Linked DNA regions of Homo sapiens: regions 1 and 3 are each linked to region 2. Evidence: promoter capture Hi-C in 16 types of primary human blood cells and fetal thymus (Javierre and others, 2016). All regions are on one chromosome and are shown on one strand. Each heading gives the region's core, a stretch centred on a gene start or on the middle of the fragment in contact. The rest is flanking DNA. Distances are from core to core; before and after follow the strand shown.

Region 1 (2,700 bases), core at 33-2,532, 720 kb after region 2:
GTACTCTCAGCTACTCAGGAGGCTGAGGTGGGAGGATCATTTGAGCCCGGGAGGTTGAGGCTGCAGTGAGCCGTTGATTGTACCACTGCATTCCACCCTGGGTGACAAAGCAAGACCCTGTCTCAACAACAACAATGGCAACAATAACAGCAACAACACAATTTGAAAAGAGAAAACAAGTGAGACTAAGATGAACCATAAACAGGCGTTAGTTTTATTAGTATTGGGTAGCTGACCAAAGTATTTGCTGTGCTGATACATAAATAATGCCCTATGAGAGGATTCTTTTCTGCTGTGCAAATCAAATTCAAGAAACGTGCCAGAAGAAACAGCACAGTGTAGACTGAGTTGCACAGTAGTTCCTTCGCAATGCTGAAGTGGGTAGAGTAGACCAATTTATTGATTTATTTTTAGACAACATGTTTATCTTTTTGTATTTGTGCTTTAATACAGTTAAGAGAGCCAATAAATAGTTGTCATGGGTAGCCTGGTTTTAGGTCTAAAAGTCTCACAGATACACATATCTTATCTCTTGATTCATTTTGACCTGATAGCCATGTCAGGGATTTTTTCCCATGTGAAGCTACTGAAGTGAAAATAGCTGTATATCCTGTAGACACTTGGAGGGCTGTGATTCAGGGGAAGAATCTTCCCATTTCCTCCTATGAAGAGATGGAAAGAGGAAGGCTTGCATCTCATACAGAAGCTTTGATGGATTACTCATCTCGTGCTTTCCTTGGTGTCTGTCCTTGGGACATTTTTTCACATCAGGTCAAAGTCAAAACCAACAATCACACAAAGAAACTAACAGAGACAACTACATAGATGAACATCCTTACTTTTCCTTTATAAATCTTTTAGAAATGAAAAATACTGAGATTATAAACCACCATCCCCAGTAAAAATTCTCAGCACTGAGGCCCTAATGGGCTTCCCTTTGATGCAGGGCAGGTAAGCCCCAAAGCTGGGGCTTAGCCAGCGAGAGTTCTTGCCTTGCCTTTGCCCAGGAAAGAATTCAAGAGCCAGCTGGTCATGTTAGAAAGCACCTTTTTTTTTTTTTTTTTTTGAGACAGAGTCTCAAAGGCTTGGGTGCAGTGGCATGGTCACAGCTCACTACAGCCTCAACCTCCCAGGCTCAAGTGATCCTCCTACCTCAGCCTCCTGAGTAGCTGGGACCACAGGTGCATGCCACCATGGCTGGCTAATTTTTGTATTTTTAGTTGGGACAGTATTTTGCCATGTTGCCCAGGCTGGTCTCAAACTCCTGGGCTCAAGTGATCCGCCCACGTCAACCTCTCAAATTGCTGGGATTACAGGCATGAGCCACTGCGCCTGGCCTAGACAGCAACTTTTATTGAAGCAGCAGTGTACAGCAGCAGCAGAGGTACTGGTTCTGTGGAGAAGGCCACCCCACAGGCAGTGTGCCCAGAGTGGCAGCTCAGAGGCAGTTCTGCAGTCATAGTTATACCCACTTTAAATTACATGCAAATCAAGGGGTGGATTATGCAGAAATTTCTAGAAAAAGAGTGGTAACTTCTGAGTCATTGGGTCATTGCCATGGAAAGGGGCAGAAATCTCTGGGTGTTGCCATGGCAATGGTAAACTGACATGGCACTCTTGTGGGCATGTCTTACAGAGAGGTATTTTTATCTCTTCCCTGTTTTAGCTAGTCCTCAATCTGGTCCAGTTTCTGAGCATCACCTCCAGAGTCCCACCTCCTATCTCACCTTGTAGACAACATTTCACATGTGTTGTCACAACTCATTGCTGGAGGAATCAAGCATGTCCTTTGGGACTCTACTGGGAGGGGACTGTACTGGGAGGGGACCGTACTGGGAGATGGCTCTTGGAAGCTTGTGCTTGGTTACTTCTGGACCTCGCCCATGTGCCTTTTCCCTTTGCTAATTTTTCTTTGCATCTATTTACTGTAATAAATTTTAGCCATGAATGTCATTATATTTAGATTTCTAGCAAATCACTAACCTGGGAGTGGTCCTGTAGATCCCTGACACAGCCTCCTTTACTAGATTTTTCTAAGTATTAAGTGTGATTATATTGGCATTATATTATAATAATAAGTAATTAATAATAAACACTAATAAATGAAAGATAGCAAAATTACCTTATGATAACATGGAAAACTTGAGTCATATGCTAAAGGACATGAGATGGAAAAAGAGCATTAGCCAAGCCTGAAATTTTCTGCACATTTTCCAAAGTGGATTTTTAAAAAATAACCGCAAATAAGTGCAGAGCTTTTTTTTACACTAGAACAATTAGGATGCCTTATTATTGTCTGAACTCTTCTGCTTGCTTGAGTCAATGAAAACTTTACACATATTGGCTAGATATATTCTCAGATATCTTCTGCATGTAAGCAAAGGGGAGAAATATTGTGCCGTTCTGAGCCTTTGAGAAAATTTGCCTTACCCACTTCCTGTGTTTAAAGAAAGGCAATGTATTAATATCTGGCAAGAGCACATTTGAGATCGAGACAAGAAGACAACAGGATGTACTTTCTTCTTGTCAAGATAGAACTTCATGCCTGGCTAATCAACTAGAAAGTCTGATTTTTGCATGCCTCAGGAAAAAGCAATCATAGGTGGTTTTGAGAGGAGGGTTCTCTAGTGTTTCCTTCCCTCAGAGCCGAGATCTTACATGTAAATTGATGCACTTCTTCCTGGGGCATCCAGCTTTCAA
Region 2 (2,700 bases), core at 145-2,644:
AGACATTTTTAATTGTCACTTCTGGGGAAGGGGGTTGATACTGTCATCTACTGAGTAGAAGCCAAGGATGCTGCTAAACATCCTACAGTGCACAGGACAGCCCCTCACAAAAAAGGATTATCAGGCCCCAAAGGCCAATAGTGCTAAGGTTGAGAAACTGCACTAGGCTGAGTTCCTTTAAAATATGACCCTATTCAGCGCTGTTCCAGCAGCTCCACAGACAGTGTCCAGTGCCCAGTAGGAAGGAATCCAAACAGTTTTAATATTACATTTGAAATTTTAATTGAAAAACTCTTCTGACAGCTGTATGTTATAACTAATAAGCAATATGACCACATACCACAATTCAAAGGAAAACCAATATCCAGAGGTAAAGGTGGCTTACACCCATCAGTCTTTGACACTTCCTCCTATCTAGTTCTCTGTATTTCTTCCCTTTCTCCTTTTCTCTTGTCCCTGTGCTCACTGTCCCCCTTTACTGTCATGTTTGTTTGAATTCCACTTCAAAATGGGAATTTGAACAGAGTGCAATAAATTGTCCCACATTTGTTTATTTTAGGAAATCATTGCATTTAATTTTAACATTTAAACATATCAATTAGGCCAGGTGCGGTGGCTCACGCCTGTAATCCCAGCACTTTGGGAGGCTGAGGCGGGCGGATCACGAGGTCAGGAAATCGAGACCATCCTGGCTAACACGGCGAAACCCCGTCTCTACTAAAAATACAAAAAATTAGCCGGGCGTGATGGCGGGCGCCTGTAGTCCCAGCTACTTGGGGAGCCGAGATCGCGCCACTGCACTCCAGCCTGGGAGACAGAGCAAGACTCCGTCTCAAAAAAAAAAAAACTTATCAATTACTGGGTGACATGCTGTGCACTGCAAGAAAAACAAAGATAAATAGGAAACTGGGACTATCCTAACTGGGGGAGATTTCTGTAGCAGTAGAAAAGTAGAGGAAATATAGTTTTATTTCACTAATGTGATTAGGGAATATCTCATGGAGAAAGTCTTCGATTTAGGTCTTCACACATGTTTCATAAAGAATGTTAACACACCACACATAGGTAATAATGTTGTCTTTCCTTACCTGGCATCATTATGAGGGCCACTTTTTGGGGCAATGATTCCTAAATTTCAGCAACTCCTGGAGGGCTTGTGAAAGAAAGCACAGATTGCTGGGTTCTGCCCTCATAGTTTCTGAGGCAGTAGGTCTTCGGTGAAATCAGAAAACTGGTGTTTCTTTTTTCTTTTTTTTTTTGTGACGGAGTCTTGCTCTGTCACCCAGGCTGGAGCGCAATGGCGTGATTTCAGCTCACTGCAACCTCCGCCTTCCGGGTTCAAGCGATTCTCCCGCCTCAGCCTCTGAGTAGATGGGAAACAGTCGCGCGCCATCATGTTTTTGTAGAGGCGGGGTTTCACTCTATTGGCCAGGCTGATCTTGAACTCCTGACCTCAGGTGATCCGCCCACCTCAACCTCCTGAAGTGCTGGGGTTATAGGCGTGAGCCACGGCGCCTGTTTGTTTTTTTTTTTCTAATCAGAGGTTTTGCTCTTGTCGCCCAGGCTGGAGTGCAATGGTGTGATCTTGTCTCACTGCAACTTCTGCCTCCCAGGTTCAAGTGATTCTCCTGCCTCAGCCTCCCAAGTAACTGTGATTTCAGGTGCCCGCCACTACACCCGGCTAATTTTTGTATTTTTAGTAGAGGCGGGGTTTTGCCATGTTGGCCAGGCTGGTCTCAAAACTCCTGACCTCAGGAGTTCGGCCTCCGAAAGTGCTGGGATTACAGGCATGAGCCACTGTGCCCGGCCTAGAAAACTGGTGTTTCCAACAAGTCCTTTGGTGCTGCTGGTGCTACTGCGGGCCTTCTGAGGAGACTTTGAGAACCGCTGCATCAGGATTATCAGCCTGGTAACTCCTGGCCGAAGAAATGCACACCCTTCATTTGGCTAAAAGAAAGAATTTCCAATATTCATAAAGAAAACACAACTTGTGGGTTCTCCAAGCAGGAGAGGAAAAATCATGTTCCAGTCTATTCCTGTAACTAATGAAGGGCTCAGGTTTCAAAGGTAAGTTAATTGTCAGACCCACTTTATTGTACCCAGTGTCCTTGGGAAACATAATTATTTATTGGAAATATGTCACAACTAACATAAGTCTTAAAAATTTGTTAAATTAGAAACAAAATATTGTATTTGCTGATATGTTAAAACATAAGGGCCTAACATTTAGAATTGCACTTCTCATACTCACAACATGTACTCAAAATGCTGTTAACATCTACTTTGATGATTGTTTTGGGTTTACTTGAATCTAATGTTTCCATTTAATAATTCCTTTTTTTTCCCCTTTCCTTTTTTCAATCAATCCTTTCTCTTTTCTATGTTCTATATTCATGTTATCTTAGAATTCCATTTTGGCCTTCTAGGTTCTTTACTTCTTCCTCCAGCCTGTCATTTTCATGTCTTCAGTGATTTCTCAGACTTCTCACAGAAAGTTAACCATTTTTGTGCATCTTGAAACTTTTAACCTTTGATTTGAAGATAAATGCTAATAAATAAATATAATTCTTATGAATACATTATGCACAATGTTAAATTCAAAATGACTGACATGTTTCATGCTGTGTGCTATAGATATGCTAAACTTCATTTCAAACAGACTAAATAAAACACATGGAACTACATGCACTTTTTGTGAAC
Region 3 (2,700 bases), core at 1-2,500, 640 kb before region 2:
AGATTTTCAAACAACATGAGGTTTTCTGTTCTTTCTACAAATAATTCTTCCTCTAAGCAGGACATATAAGTAGAATGGTACATACTTTCATGGCTTGATGAAGCTTCTCTGCAAAGAAAGCTGGTTTGCTTGTGGCGCACTTCACTGTTAGAGAAGAAAATTTTAGTTGATGTATTTACCATGAAAAAAATGAAATATCCATATGAAAGAAACAGGAAATATAGAATTTTGCCAACAGTGTTCTATCCCTCATCATCATTCTTCACCTCTCATCTCCCAATATAGGGCAGTTAACTTCTGAGAAGGTATTTGTGACTCTCTAGATGGTGGTTTTGAATATTCTTTTCCCTGACGATCAATTTTTTTATTACCTTAAATACATCTCAAGAGCAACTTCAGTAGTTTGCGCTATCCAACATATATTCTCCTTGGGAGTGGAGAAGCCACTAGGTGTTCAAGCCTATGTAAATACTTTATTTATGTTACTATAAGAACATTTAAAAAGAACACCCTATGAACAACAGACACTGCAGACTACTAGAGAGGGCAGGGAGAGAAGGGGCATTGGTCAAAAAACTACTTATTGGGTACTATGCTCACTGCCTGAGTGCAGAACACCCATGGAACAAACGTGCACATGTACCTCTGTGTCTAAAGTAAGAGTTGCACAAACAAATAAGTAAAAATAAATGAATAAATGAAGAAAAAACTCTGGGATAGGATGGGCTTAAATATAAAACAGAACCCAAATAATACTAGCACATTCCAGTTCATAGTGTTCTTCATCTTGTCGAGATCTATGGACCAACAGCATTGGCATCAATGGGGAGCTTGTTAGAAAAGCAGAATCTAAGCTCCACCCCAGACCTGGGGAATCAGAATCTGCATTTTAACAAGCTTTCCAGGGGATTCAAGTGCATAGTCATGAATGAGAAACACTGCTTGAGAACATAGGTTCCCCAACCCTGATGGTTGTCTGAATAACCTGGGAGATCTTTAAAAAGTACCGATTTTTAGAGGCCAACTCGGACCCACTGAATCAGACTCTCCTGGACCTGCCCAAGATTGTACAATTAACAAGCAGTAGACCAGGACTTGAAGTTACATTTATCCAGATGTTACATTTATTCCAGATCCCATGCTCTCAGTGACCATTCTGAATTGCCTCTGTGGTGTGCCCAGCCTGGTACATTGTTTGATATAAGTAGGTGCTCAATAAGTATAGTCTATCTCTCTCTATTTTTGAAAAGGGGAATAATATCTATTGTTATTAAGGTTATAGTACTTTGCCAATCTTTTACGTTGCTTCAATTGAAACAGATGCACTACTTCTGATTGTTTTTTGTTTTCTTTTATTGGTTTTGTTGCTGTTGTTCTTGTTAAGTATAGGATAGCTTTGAAAATACAATTTCTAGTTAGAAAACTCTTTCAACTGCTGGACTACATACCGATAGCTGTGAGGCATTTCTCAATGTCACCTTTCAACTCCAGGTCCAGAACTTTGTTCATGTCATGCTTACTGTACTTGGTGTATTTCTGAAACACTGAATATTAAATTCAAACTAAGATACATGCAAAACATCCTTTTCTTTAGAAAGCTTTAGCAAAATCAAGGCAACTGACTCAAAGAATTTTTTAGAATAACAACTTTGGCTACACCTTTTAAAGCAATATACCCAATTAATCATAACGTGAATACTTCATCCTCTCCTAGGAATGTAACTTACCTGGCCATTTTGGTATTCCTATATATTTTGGCGAAATGTTTGCAAATGTTGACAGTTATTAGAAACGGCATGTGATTGACAACTATAGCACTTCCTACAGCAGTTCTAAGAGCCACAGCAAATGGATCTTCCCTTATATAAAGACCTGTGCACTAAATTTCTCTTACATTTAACAGTAGAAATCAGTATACTATTATAAGATGGTGAACTTTGGTAATTGTCATAACTTTTCCATCGCCTTCACTTCCAAGAGGCCCAGAGCTAAATCTTGCACTCAAAGGCCAGGACTTTTTCTGAGTTTTGTCTTGTTGTTGTTTTTCCAAAGCACCTACATATTTCTTTCTTCATTTAGCTCTGAGGGTTTTTTGTTTTTTTTTTTTTGTTTTTCTTCATTCTAATTTCATTTGTTCTGTTATGCATGTCTTTTCCCACACATATTCCAAATCTTTTAGGGGAGTAAAAGCAGTGAAAATAACAAAATTATGTTCCACATGCCCAAGTCACAAAATGTATTAAATATGATAAAGTAGCGGCTGTACAAAATTGGACAAATTGACAAATAACAATGGGTCAGGAACACTGTATCTGTTTGATACAGGAGTGATATTGAAAAAGGGTTCTGTTTTTACTTTCTCTTATTTGTCATCAAAAAAGAAAATTGCATCTTCCATAAACAGATTCCAGAAAAAGAAATTTATTGTTACCTCTGCGAAGTTGTGGATAGCTTCTGGTGGTAAGGATGGTATTGAACACGTTTACGTCTGTCCCCTTTCTCCTTTCTCCTGCTTCATACAAGGCCTGTCAAGAAACACAAAAGTAAACACTTCACTATCTGCTGAAATGATATCTGCACAATAATGTTAGACCTTGTCAAAGATTATATAGGCAATCGCTTTGTGCCCAATACAATCAGAGTAGTCAACAATAAGATTGCAAGTTCTTTAAAGATAGGGACCTTATTTTGTTTGTCAAA

The links. Contacts are between HindIII fragments. The CHiCAGO score rates a contact against its expected background, and 5 or more counts as called.
Region 1: a contact is called between a fragment that was not itself captured here and the fragment with the promoter of TMC1 in region 2, in 1 of 17 cell types (activated CD4 T cells). The highest score is 5.6, in activated CD4 T cells.
Region 3: a fragment that was not itself captured here is called in contact with the fragment with the promoter of TMC1 in region 2 in 1 of 17 cell types (non-activated CD4 T cells); the score reaches 5.1 in non-activated CD4 T cells.

The regions. Positions count from the first base shown.
Region 1 is chr9:71,795,426-71,798,125 of GRCh38, reverse strand. No RefSeq gene overlaps it. Among named protein-coding and RNA genes, the nearest start is that of CEMIP2, 28 kb to the right of the region's middle. RefSeq lists an enhancer at 2,634-2,700. The HindIII fragment of the contact is 1,147 bases long and covers 709-1,855 here.
Region 2 is chr9:72,520,302-72,523,001 of GRCh38, reverse strand. It overlaps TMC1 (transmembrane channel like 1), which reads right to left and starts at 1,394. Exons shown (of 24, transcript NM_138691.3): 1 at 1,089-1,394. The HindIII fragment of the contact is 6,235 bases long and covers 1-2,700 here.
Region 3 is chr9:73,164,941-73,167,640 of GRCh38, reverse strand. ANXA1 (annexin A1) reads right to left here. Exons shown (of 13, transcript NM_000700.3): 9 at 2,432-2,525; 10 at 1,449-1,544; 11 at 86-144. Among named protein-coding and RNA genes, the nearest start is that of ANXA1, 14 kb to the right of the region's middle. The HindIII fragment of the contact is 701 bases long and covers 900-1,600 here.